Linked DNA regions of Homo sapiens: all the other regions are linked to region 4. The links are contacts of gene promoters, found by promoter capture Hi-C in blood cells and fetal thymus (Javierre and others, 2016). All regions are on one chromosome and are shown on one strand. The core of a region is centred on a gene start or on the middle of the fragment in contact, and the rest is flanking DNA. Distances in the headings are between cores, read along the strand shown. Region 1 overlaps OR8D1 (olfactory receptor family 8 subfamily D member 1). Region 2 has its middle 28 kb from the start of OR8B2. Region 3 holds the start of OR8G5 (olfactory receptor family 8 subfamily G member 5). Region 4 holds the start of VWA5A (von Willebrand factor A domain containing 5A).

What was found. The method cuts DNA at HindIII sites, captures the fragments that hold promoters and counts their contacts. A CHiCAGO score of 5 or more calls a contact.
Region 1: a fragment that was not itself captured here is called in contact with the fragment with the promoter of VWA5A in region 4 in 2 of 17 cell types (M2 macrophages and total B cells); the score reaches 6.2 in M2 macrophages.
Region 2: a fragment that was not itself captured here is called in contact with the fragment with the promoter of VWA5A in region 4 in 1 of 17 cell types (total B cells); the score reaches 5.1 in total B cells.
Region 3: a fragment that was not itself captured here is called in contact with the fragment with the promoter of VWA5A in region 4 in 1 of 17 cell types (M2 macrophages); the score reaches 6.4 in M2 macrophages.

Annotation. Positions count from the first base shown.
Region 1 is chr11:124,307,833-124,311,069 of GRCh38, reverse strand. OR8D1 (olfactory receptor family 8 subfamily D member 1) reads left to right here. Exons shown (of 3, transcript NM_001002917.2): 3 at 288-3,237. The coding sequence starts at 304. The coding sequence ends at 1,230. Among named protein-coding and RNA genes, the nearest start is that of OR8D1, 4.5 kb to the left of the region's middle. The HindIII fragment of the contact is 1,486 bases long and covers 1,015-2,500 here.
Region 2 is chr11:124,354,551-124,357,628 of GRCh38, reverse strand. It overlaps the pseudogene OR8B5P. Among named protein-coding and RNA genes, the nearest start is that of OR8B2, 28 kb to the left of the region's middle. The HindIII fragment of the contact is 197 bases long and covers 1,249-1,445 here.
Region 3 is chr11:124,254,879-124,258,306 of GRCh38, reverse strand. OR8G5 (olfactory receptor family 8 subfamily G member 5) reads right to left here and starts at 1,931. Exons shown (of 2, transcript NM_001005198.2): 1 at 1,673-1,931. The HindIII fragment of the contact is 3,035 bases long and covers 544-3,428 here.
Region 4 is chr11:124,113,639-124,116,773 of GRCh38, reverse strand. VWA5A (von Willebrand factor A domain containing 5A) reads right to left here and starts at 1,324. Exons shown (of 19, transcript NM_001130142.2): 1 at 1,292-1,324; 2 at 94-208. The HindIII fragment of the contact is 2,481 bases long and covers 1-1,616 here.

The sequences.
Region 1 (3,237 bases), core at 508-3,007, 190 kb before region 4:
TCAGAAATTCTCCCCACAAAGTAAACATTTGCTTTTTTTCTACCAAATTCAGGAGGCAAATGTTACTGAGTCAGTCAGGAAGTACTTTTTTGTAACTTAAATTCTGGACCAACTTGGAGAAGGCCCAGGGAACTTTAGGGAGACAAAGCAGAGGTATCAAGTTTAGAGACAATGAAAACTATGACTCAGTCTGTTAGCTGCTGTCAACCTCCCTTATGCAATTTGGTTTTGTTTGGAAGAGCAGTGAGGGTCCATGTTAAGGTAATTCATACTTTCTATTTTCACAGAAATGCCTAAAGAAGAATGACCATGGAAAATTATTCTATGGCAGCTCAGTTTGTCTTAGATGGTTTAACACAGCAAGCAGAGCTCCAGCTGCCCCTCTTCCTCCTGTTCCTGGGAATCTATGTGGTCACAGTAGTGGGCAACCTGGGCATGATTCTCCTGATTGCAGTCAGCCCTCTACTTCACACCCCCATGTACTATTTCCTCAGCAGCTTGTCCTTCGTCGATTTCTGCTATTCCTCTGTCATTACTCCCAAAATGCTGGTGAACTTCCTAGGAAAGAAGAATACAATCCTTTACTCTGAGTGCATGGTCCAGCTCTTTTTCTTTGTGGTCTTTGTGGTGGCTGAGGGTTACCTCCTGACTGCCATGGCATATGATCGCTATGTTGCCATCTGTAGCCCACTGCTTTATAATGCGATCATGTCCTCATGGGTCTGCTCACTGCTAGTGCTGGCTGCCTTCTTCTTGGGCTTTCTCTCTGCCTTGACTCATACAAGTGCCATGATGAAACTGTCCTTTTGCAAATCCCACATTATCAACCATTACTTCTGTGATGTTCTTCCCCTCCTCAATCTCTCCTGCTCCAACACACACCTCAATGAGCTTCTACTTTTTATCATTGCGGGGTTTAACACCTTGGTGCCCACCCTAGCTGTTGCTGTCTCCTATGCCTTCATCCTCTACAGCATCCTTCACATCCGCTCCTCAGAGGGCCGGTCCAAAGCTTTTGGAACATGCAGCTCTCATCTCATGGCTGTGGTGATCTTCTTTGGGTCCATTACCTTCATGTATTTCAAGCCCCCTTCAAGTAACTCCCTGGACCAGGAGAAGGTGTCCTCTGTGTTCTACACCACGGTGATCCCCATGCTGAACCCTTTAATATACAGTCTGAGGAATAAGGATGTGAAGAAAGCATTAAGGAAGGTCTTAGTAGGAAAATGAGTCCTGATTTGGGGGATTTATAGATGGGAAAAATGAATAGTTCCAATGAACATATATTCCTTTTTTCTATTTTCATGTTCTTCTGTTGTAACATACATAATATCTAGATTTTAAAAATACTTTCCCATCTATGATTGATTCAACTTTCTCAACAAAATAAAAGAATTGTGTAAAGCAGGTATTAACATTCTTATCTTTTGATAGGAAAACTAAGGTCTAGGTAGTTTTAATTTCTTTTACCAATTGTGATAGAAAAGACATGAGAATTCAGATTTTCTCCAATGTTAGTCCTCTCTTCCTAATATCCCATGTTTGCTTGTTGAATACTTGCTATGTGGGAGGTACTGAGTTGTCCACTGATATGAATGCTAAGAGGTATGTTAGCCTGATCCCAGATATCTATTAATTCTTCAGGGAATTAGACAAATACACAAGGGAAAAGAACAGAAAAGAAAAGAAAAAAGAAAAGAAAAGGAAAGAATAGAAAAGAAAAGAAAAAGTTAAGAACAAGAATGGCAATTCTAGTCAGCAGGTCTTATTCGAATCGCTTTTACTATTTTTTTTTCTACTCAGTATATTAAAAATCTCTTTATTTTCATTTCCTTGTTGTTCTTCATGGATCTGGTTTTGTTTTTTTTGTATTTGTATATCTACTTTAACACCACAGTTCTACACTAAGGGACCTCTGACCATGTGTTTTCACTATCTATTGCAATGGAGTTGCCTAAGGTTGAAAAACCTTCCTCATAGGGAAGATATAACCCCCACATTTGTTTCAGTTGGAGAACTGTCCTCTGCAGATTCCTGAACTGAAGCTGTGGTCCATGTTTTTGAGCATGTGACCTTACAGTAAAAGTAGGTACCAAGAGCTCTGTATACAATGCTTTTCTTGGGTTTTCACAGGTCTTAGGTCTCATGTAACATTTCCTTCTGTTTTTGTTTTTAGCTTTTGTATGTTGCTGGGTAGTAATAAGATGCCTCTACTGTTCTGCATCCCTCAGCTGTTTTCTCTTCTTCCCAGGAATATTCCATTGAATTTCTAGCATTTTAACTTCCATATCAAGTTAGTTTTCTTCACTCTATATCACATATTAAACCATTAGTGTTTGCTGAAATTAGTTGCCTTTCTCCCTTTACTTTTTCTTTGTTTTTGCCAAAATAATTTTTACAACCTAATACTCTAGATTTTAGCTTAAAGAATCATTCCAAGCAAGAAATAAGAAATCAGTAAATTTTGTATCTACCAAAATCCTACTGTTCTAACAAAGCTTGTCTACCTTTAGCTCCTACATTTTGATAATCTCACCCAGAATACATCTTCCTATCAGTTTGTTGAACCAGGTCCTAAACATTTACCGTGGCCTTGCTCACCTTCCCCTTAATACATCTTCTCTTCTGTATGCCTTGCTCTAATATTTTTTAATGTTATCTTAGAGTTTCTCAGATACAGTGCCTATATCTTCTCAAGTCCTCCCATTCCTTAAGATCTTTTTGAGGGGGACACATAGTACTTACTCTTTTTCAGCAGCTTTAATAGTGCAATTAACACTTTTCTGAATCCAGGATCCTGACCTTCAAATTATCATTTGGTGCCACATAGTTTTCTAACCTGTCCTCTTCTCTCTCTTATTCCAGTTTAATTAACTTATTTTACTTTTAGTCTCATTTTTCTTCTGCTCTTGTTAGGGTTATAAAACTGAAGCATTCTTTCTAAATCACTTTATTTTCTAAGCAGATTTGATTCTTAGAAACAGGGTGTTCCAAACCCAGATTTTAAAACTGTATTCTTAGTTGTTAGCTTTGCAATAATTCAATTGAACTGTTTCTCTTTCTCAGTATATTTAGATGCAATATTATTTTTATGCTAAGACCCTCTTCCCCCGTTATTTTTATTTTTATTTTTTATTTTTTGGTTCATGAGTGAAATCTACCACCCCTTTAAAGGGAAAGCTCCAATTTAGAAGATGGGTATTTGTAGCCCTGCTCAGAACTTATACATTTAACAAA
Region 2 (3,078 bases), core at 98-2,597, 240 kb before region 4:
TCCTTAATCTACAGCTTAAGGAGGAAAGATGTTAAATTTGCCATGGGAAAATCTCTGAGTAGGAGAATGTTTTTGCCATAAACAACATTTCTCTGTGTATGTAGTTACAGGATGGGGATTCTCTGTATTTTATTATAATAATTGAGGAGGAAATAATTTTTCCTATTTGTTATCATGATGATGGTTAGTTGAGTATCATCCTGTCAATTTGTCTCCAATTTTTTATAGTAGATTTTTCCCCTCACCCTTTGCACATCTTTCCCCTTTTCATCATTTTTCCTGTGTAATAATAAAGAAAGTTTTTCTCTTTTTCCATTGTCATTATGGACTTCCTTTTTTCTTCTAGAAAAGATGATTGGTTTTTCAAATGATCAAGTAAAGTAAAATTAGGATAACAATGTTCCGCTGCATGTAAGAGCCTGACAACCTGTCTCTACTCGTCTTTCCATCCTCCACTGGGCAGCATCATGCATCCTTTAAACGTCAGCGTTTTCCAGACAGACAAGGTTCAACAAGACTTAACAAATACAGCCCACTTTGCAGTTTTAAATACTACACATGAAGCTTCTTTTGGCATTAATTTTACGTTTACCTTGGTATACCCCAAATAGCTTATATAGATCACCAGTATACACTGATTGCATCTATGAGGTGCTGAAACTAAGAGATGCTAATGATTCCCTTAAAGTCACACAATTTCTTTATAAAAAAGCCTAAAAAAATAAGTTAATAGACTCCTGATTTCAAGTCTACTACTTTTTCTGGTATGCTTTATTATTTCACTTATTAAACACGAGATACTATATGAGAAAACATTTCTTTTGGACAGTTGAGTGCACTTTGTTTCTAGATGATAAATAATCTCAGGATGGTTGTTGCTTTAGTTTTTTGTTCTGGGAAATTGTGTTTTTGGGTGAAATTGTGAAAGTGGAGATCTATTAAGCTGGGGTAGTTGCGAATTGATTGGCTCAAGTAGGGAGTTGATGTATTTTACAAAATCAAAAAGTATATTGAAATATTTTCTGGTGTTTATAACTCAGAGAATAGAGGCATAGGAGAGAAAAGAGCCTACCAATTTGTCATTTAGGCAAGAATCCAAAGAGACACATAGCCAATATACAAGAGGTCCCTCTGTGGGGATTATCAATTAGGATTTAGAAACCATCTGAAATTCTCAATTTAAATTCTCAGTCTGAATTTGTATCTGTTCTGTAAATTACTGTAACTATATTTTATTAGCATAAAGCTTTGATAAAATTTGTAATCCAAAACGACTATACATTAAATAATGTTTCGAGGAGTGAATGTGAGAAATCTATGGTCATATTTGTGGAGAACCAGGAAGGGAAAGAAAGGAAACTTCAACCAGAAAAATAATGAGTGGCAATTGGATTTCAAGTTAGGAAAGAGGAACTTAGAAAGTAGAACAATGGAAAATTAAAGCTTCTACCTATGACTCCTTTTTCTCTAAATTGGAAGGCCTTACAAATACTATGGTGATCATAGAATTTTTCTGAGTAGGACGAAGGCATAAGTTATCTGATATTAAAGAAAGGTTAAACCTGAGGGCTGGAGGACCTGCAGACAACTAAATCACTCATGGTTTTGTGGCTTTCATTAGGTATTTTCATTTTAAGGTATTAGAAACTCATATTGCAGTTGTCAGATAATATAAGCACGTAACAACATACGGGAGGGTGTGTTGTAGGTTATAAACATGAAACAAATAAGGGCAATGAATTGGAGTGAGCTAAGAGGAAAGTAGTGCTGAGTAAAAAAAAAAAAAGTGATTTCATCTGAAAGATTACAGAGCATTATGCATTATATGGCCATGTATATCATAATGTTAAAATTACGTAACTACGCAGACTATGTGTGTGTGTGTAATATATTTTTTGACAGGCATTTCTGGAGTCACTAACTGTGTGATAATGATTGTACCTAAAAGTCAAACAGGCACTGTTAGAAAAGGAGGGGAGAAGAAAGTTCCCGATCTTTTAGGCCTGGTGGAATGTGTTATTTGTGATGTAAAATTTTGAATAGAATATTAAGCCTCCAAAGACAGCAAGGCAAAAGCACCTTGGTCTGTGTATAAACGACTTCATAATTATGTCTTTATTAAAGCACTTGAATTATAGATAGGCTCCTGGAGAAGCCACTATATCAGAATAAAATAGCTTACATGATGCTACCTGTAATTATTATAATATCTCAAAAACAGAGATTGCTGTTTAGATGCCTTGTTTTTGGTTACATGATTACTTCTGGGCAAAATCGTAATTAAAAATCATGACTTTTATTTGACTGACATCAAAGACTGAGACTTATAAGTGCCCTTAGCATCTCTACAGAAAAAGAAGAGGAGGAGCGTTAGAATAATCCTTAGGCCACTATGACCATAAGTGTACAGTTTTTGTGTGTGAGCAGAAGCTTTTATTTTTGTAGGCAAATACCTTAAATTGTGACGACCTTAAGAGAAACTACGAATGGTTTTCTAACAGATGCACCATGTTGCATTCCCACCACTGATGAATGAACATTTCAGCTGCTCTGTGTACTCATTAGCATTAGATTTAGTCACTTTGTTTATTTATTTTCACTTTTCTAATAGGTTTTTAGTGGTATGTCATTGTGATTTTAATTTGACTTTCCCTAATAACTAAAGATGTTGAGGATCCTTTCATGAGTTTATTTCCCATCCATATGCCGCTTTTGGGCAAAGTGTCTAGGTACAACCTTTGTTCATTTATTTAATCAGTTGTTGCTTTACTTATTTTTGAGGTTTACTGGTTCTTTACAGATTCTGGATGTATATTACTTAATAGAAGTATGATTTGAAAATATAACCTTCCAGTGTTTGGCTTGTTTCATTCTTTGAGTATTATCTTTCTTAGAGGAAAGGATTTTAACTTTGATAATGTCTAATTAACTATCTTTTTTTCTCTGATGGACTCTGTTTTTGGTAGCTTATCAGGAATCTTTGCCTTACTCTATGTCAAAAAGTTTTCCCTTTGCTCCCTTCTAAAAATCTTAAAGGTTAATGTTTTATCTTTATGTCTGAGTAATTCTGTGATAATT
Region 3 (3,428 bases), core at 812-3,311, 140 kb before region 4:
GGGATTACAGGTGTGAGCCACGGAGCCTGGCCATGAATGTCTTTTTTAAGGAGGAACATTGACAAGATGAAAGTTGTATAGAAGCTGTGAAGAGCTTGGAAAATATTTAAAGGTAATGAAATAATTAGCAGACACTTTTATACATTGAAAGAGAAACAAAAGAGAAGAGGTGTTTATTTTGTGTATGGTGTTTGACAGACTTAAGAATACACCCTTTAGATGTTGAAGATGCTAGCCAGAGAGGAGATAATTCAATGGGGAAAAGTCTCAGAGAAGAAGAAAATAATGGGATATGGAGTACGTGTACAAGAGCTAGATTTAGAAAGGAAGGACTCTCCTAAGAGAGAAGAGAGGTGATGTTGGGGTGCAGAAGATGATTCCCCAAAATATGGCACTCTGGCATGCTGAGTGCTTTAAAAGGCCTTGGAAATAAGCTTCAGAACCAAGGGCTGTTTCTGACCTTCTCCCACCTCCTTGTCTCTCAGATCCTCTTCCCCAAAGTACTGGGTGGGACTCTTTGGAATTTCCTTATCTAACTAAGCTTCTTTCCCAAAGAAATGCAGTTGTCTTAAGACCCCCTTCTTTGGAATCCAGGAAAGATAACCAGGAAAGATTAACCACCAGAGAAGAGACTGGGAGTCATCACCATGCACAGACAGACTTTTCATCTGCTATTCTCAAGGCAGCTCCAAGAGATTACCTGGGGGACTTTATCTGCATAATAAGACAACCTGTGTCCCCATGCATTTCCACCCCTCACCTTCCATAACTTGTCCGTCTCATCCAGCTTCCAAAGATAATCATTTACAAAATAATGTCTACCTCTTGCGTCCACACATCTCTCTTCCATGAAGAGAGTATTTAAGCCTCAACCACCTGGTCCTTCTTGGGTTTCATACTTAGTGTATGACTTCCATGTATATACACATTAAATAAATTTTGTATGCCTTTTTCTCCTATTAAAAAAGAATACACCCTTTAATCAATATAAAAATATTCTAATAACTTGAGATCTTAAAAAAGGAAGAGGCTATTTATTTCTGGCCATTAAATATATTTAACCACAGCATGACGATCCATCTTCAGAAAAATTAGGGAAAAGATTTTCTTAATTTATCTTATGATTAAAAACAAATATCCACTATCTCTCATCTCTTTCTACTCTTAGGTCTTGTATCTTCCTCCTTTGTGAGAGAAATATTTGGCTTCATTCAGTTCCTGGAATTTGTCACATTCACTTAGCTGTCTGACTTTTTGTTTACTGTTCCTTCTACATTAAATAGTCTTACCAATTACACTTTCTGTTGTCTGGCAAACATTTGTTTTCTTTCATATCTCATTCAAAACTATAATAATCATAGAACCATTCTCCAATTCCTTGTAATTGATTGGACCTTTCTACTGCATGCTCAGAAAATTCTAATTTCTAAACAGCACATTTTTAGACTGAACTGTACTGTAAGCCAGGCTGTGGATCAGACATCCTCTCTTCTGTATTCCCAGTATTAGCCCATATCTGGCAAATCACTGAAAGTTTAAAAAGTACTTTTAAGAATAAATGATTGATTAAATGAATGAACGAAAGTATTCACAAATATTTCCTACAGTTTTTACAGTGATTACTTCTAGACCTAATAGCATCAAATCATAAGTGTGAGATGAACACACTCACCTTTCTTTTGCCTGAAACCTCAGTTCCAAATTTTATTTGCAACTTGCTGTCTTTGACTTGGAGAATGGCACTAATGCTGCTGTTGGAAGTCATAGGTACCAAGCCAGCGTTCTGTAGTCTTTAGTCCTGAGACTGCAAAGCACAAGACATCTCACTCACTTTTGAAATCAATCTGCACCGCTGATCAGCATCTCCAGTTGTCACTTTTCAGTTGTGTTTCTCTAGCTCTAGCACACATCCTCCCCTTTTACAGTGGCCTGAGCAGTTTTGATTGCTAAACCTGGGTTTAGATACGCCAGGTACCAAATATCATGCAGACAAACATTCTCCAAGGATTTCCATTTCTCTGGGAACACAAGCTCCTGAGAAAAGAAGCAATTACTGTTGGCATTTACCCAATTGTCTAATTTTTCTTCAGGGGAATTTTTGTCAATTCTAAACTTGTCGATTAGCAATAAAGATTTGTGCCTACTGGCAATAAAGGATTTTGTGAAAAGGTATATTCTGATCCAGCAAGTCTGAGTGCGGTTTGAGATTCTGCATTTCTTAGAAACTACAAGCCAGTACTATTTGTTCACAGCCCAGACTATTATTAGCTGATTTTAGAGGACCAAGACACTTCCTGAAAAGTTATATCTTACTCATATTAGTGTTAGAAATTTTAAAATAATAAATCAAATCACTGCTTGACAGATCTCATGCTTATATTTCAACAGCTTCTCCAAAACCAATGAACTATCTTCCTTTGTTGCTAAATTGAATATTTGCAGGAAAGCAATAAAACAGCCTAAATATAATTCATGTAATCCTCCATTGTGGCCGGGGAGCAGTGGACTGTGATTGATCTACACTATTGTACTTCATGGTTGAGGTGGTGAAAGTCAAATTCAATACTGGTCAACAGTATAATGTGACTTTTAAAAAAGACTCAATATATCTTTAGTCTTCACTTGCAAAAAAAAAAAAAAATGGTCCTAGAAAATGGAATTGCTTAGTCTTATTTAACACTCAACAATAGTTGGACTACTGTTTAGTTTGGAGTACCATAATTTTGTGGGGTATAGAAAAACTGGAAAATTTCAGGAGAAAAATGTTCTGGAAATTTTGTCATTTGAAGATTGTCAGAGAGAACTGAAGATATTTAGCTAGCACAGTAATACTCTGTTTGACACATGATAGCTATCTTCAAATATTCAGCATATTCCTATATTTAGGAGATGTTGAATTCATTTTCTTCATGTCTAAGAAATTGCTGTAATACTAACTGCTAGAAACTATGGTAAGACACATTTTGTTTCACAACAAAGAAGAGCATACAAATACATCCAGAAATGGAAGCAGTTACCTTAATGTGCAGGACTTACAACCAGAAATGTTAGAGCATAGCCTATGTAACCACTGAGCAGATATTTTTCAAGTACACAGTACAATATGAGTAATTGGGTTAAATCATTTTTAACATCTCTTCCAGTTCTAATATTTCATGACTTGATATAAAAATTCCAGTATATCCTGATATTCGGTTGGACAGTCCTAGGTTCAAATCTCAGCTTAACTCCATACTTGCTGTGTGACTTTAAGAAAATCACTTCCACCAAGAAAAGCTGGCCATAACTGGGCATTAGGAAGAGGCATGAAATTTTCCTCAGAGCTCTCAGGAGGAACCACCTATGCTGACATCTTGATTTTTTGACTTCTAATTCCCAGAACTATGAGACAATAAATTTCAGTTGTTTAAAGCTGCCCAGAGTATGAT
Region 4 (3,135 bases), core at 75-2,574:
CACTAAACAGCACCAATAAATCAGGCTTTTCATTCCATATCTGTTTTTATTTTGAGAAATTGGATAAAAACTGAGTGTGGCAAAATGACTCACAATTCGACAGCAACGCAGAGGACAGTGGCAGGTGTGAGGAGAGGAGAGGATGCTCAGAAAAGGGCTTCTACGCAGACCTCTGACCTGGGCAAGTTCTCTGGTAGAACAGGCTGGGCTGGGGGAGGGAAGAATTTCTAATAACACATTAAGCAGAGAGCCTAAAGCAGGAGACTCACACAGGAGTAAAACAGCTGAAAGAGAAGCTCTCAGGCTGGGCAATACTCACCAAGGTGGCTAGAGTAAAAGAGAGAGAGACGCAAAGGGCACCCCTACAAGGAAATAGCCTTCGCTTCCTGATTCTAAGCTCAGAACAAATCCTCCGTTGAGGAAAACTTGCTATTCTGCACCCTTGCCCCCACTCTTCCCAGTACAAACAAAATTAGTTTGGGTCAGAATTAGTTCTGTCTCTCAGGATGGCACTTCAGAAAGGCAACTTGCAAGGCTTAGGTAGAGACTGGCCACCAAGCTGAAAGCCATGAATCTGAGGCAGCTGGGAGAATACAAGGCTTCCGGCCTAGCCAGGTAGCTGCTTCAGGAATGCAGAGTCCCAGCACCAGCCGCTCAGCAGCTAGGAGGGTGGGAGGGGAGCTGGGTGGCACCACCGGCCACACACACCCCTGCGGCCTGTGGCAGGGGTGAAGTGGAGAACTCGGAACCAGACAAGGAGGAGATTTGGGGTAAGAAGTGGGGCTTGGATAAAATCAGAGATTGATTTAACCTTTCCATTCAGTCCTAGATTTCCAATGTCCACGTATTTACAGAAGAGACTGCGTCGGTCTCTTACATTTCTATAGAGAAGGGCTTAGGGGCTGCAACTGATTGGAGTAGATGAGGCTTACAGCCTCATTTCCTCAGCTTACACTATCCTGAAACTGAGAAAACATCAATTGTCTATATCAAAGAAAGAAAGCGGGAAAAAAAGTAAAGTAAAAGAGAAGGAAAGTAGGAAGAAGGGCCTTGAGATTAGGAGATGGCTAAATCCCTCCTTCAACCTCCAAAAGATTCCCCTAAACTGCCAAACTTGCAGGAACCTTCCTGGGGATCATACATCAGGATGAAATCCTCCACCCATGGGGCGTGCAATTCAAGGAGCCCCTACAAATTTGGGGACTGGGGAAAGGGAGCTAGAATGTGGAGCTCTCAGTCTTCCAGAGCAGGGGTTGGATCCAGGCCCTGCACCGGTAGCTTGGTCCCCTACCTTCCTCTCCTGCAGCCCGGAGCGCTCTGAGTCACAGCGGAGTGAAAACAGCTGCAGTCATAATTTCCGGAAAGAACCGCCCCCTTCTAGGGACCGGTTATAAAGTAGCGACTACAAGACTAAGGGATCAACGGAAAATTATTGAACAAATAATCGAACTTTCGCTTGTTTGTATCAAAGGAAAAGTCTTCGACTTTGGAACGTTTGGTTTTTTTCTTTGCTCTTTGCTAAGGAACAATCAGAGAACAGGCAAAGAGGGCAAGGGAAAATGCTGCAACAGGAACAACAACAATGACATTAAAAACTGCATATTTTTGTAAAAGCTTAATTGCCAAAGGCTTACTGTGTCCTGGGCCCTGTTAATCAAAGCTTTATGGAGATTATATCATTGACACCTTATCTCTAATGTGAGTCATTTTCCCCCAAGTTGCCCCTCCCCTACAGCAGGGGGAAAGATAAGGAGATAGTGCAAGGCACACACATCTGCTCTAATGAGAGAAGCTCTAGCCAGGGAAGCCCAAGTCTTCCTGTCATGGGTCGCTTATGGGATCCTGAAACCAAATGTTTGGGTTAACGATGTAAGTAACTGAGAATGTCTATGCTCATTTACCTGGCTAAAGGACATTAGAAGCGATCAAGGTCCCCATGGCTTCTCTATTTCAAAACAACCTATTAAATCTGAGACTTAAAGTGTCATATTGCTGTCGAGAATCTATAGGATAAAGAATACATGATACATATGGAAAACACAGCTTGATTTTGGTCTCTGTGATGTATTTTTTGTGGATATACTTGTTATATACTGGTTATATACTTGTTTTTGTGAGATATTTGTTATATACAAATAACTCTCCCCAAGTTATTTGTTCTCTCATCTGAAACGGGGATAATGACAAACCTCCACTGATTGTTTTTGTGAGATCTAATGAATCTTAGTGGCTATAAAAGTTTTATATATATATATATATATATATATATACACACACACACACACACACACACACATTTATATACTTTATATATATACACCCACATACACATTTATATACATGGATGTGCATGCATAGATGTATATATGTGTATATATGTACACCCATGCATGTATATACAGTTACATGCATGTAATATATGCATATATAGTAAAGCATAATATAAGCACAAATTCTATTTTATCAGTACTAGGCCCTACAACCATGTTTTTTACATGTACTGAACTAATTATGAGAGGAAATTATCCTTTTCTCTGGAGAGAAATCATGTCTGGTATTGTTCCTTGTGACTGTGCCTTCTTTCCATTGGCCGAAACATCTGAGCAACAAAAGGGAGGAGCTGGAAACGTGGGCAGAGTTCATCATCTGATCCTGCTGGGCTTAGAGCTTAGCACTAAAAGTCTGCCACAGACCAGGCATGCAGCGTGGTTAGAGGGCACTGAATCAGGAAACACACAGAAGTTGCTGGTTGTTGAAAAAACAACTATGTGAAAATTCCCATAACCTAGCACAATATACACAATTAAACCGATATAGATGAGATATCTTCACTTAAAAGTCTGTCTTAGTGTTGCCAGGCATTCCTCAAGGTTGATTCTCACCTTCTTTTTTATACTAACAGGAACCCCAAGTTTCACAATGTCTATGACCATTCAGAATAAAAACATTGCCTAGCCTCCCTTAAAGCTGGTGTGGCCTTGTAACTAAGCTCTGGCCCATAGGGTACAAGAAATAAGTGCAACACCATGTCATGCCCTTTCAAAGAAAAGAGGATGGCTTCCCATTCACTTTACCCTCTTCCTGCTCATTGGTGTGAATGCAGGTAACTGAACCAGCTTGAACCATAAAGACTAG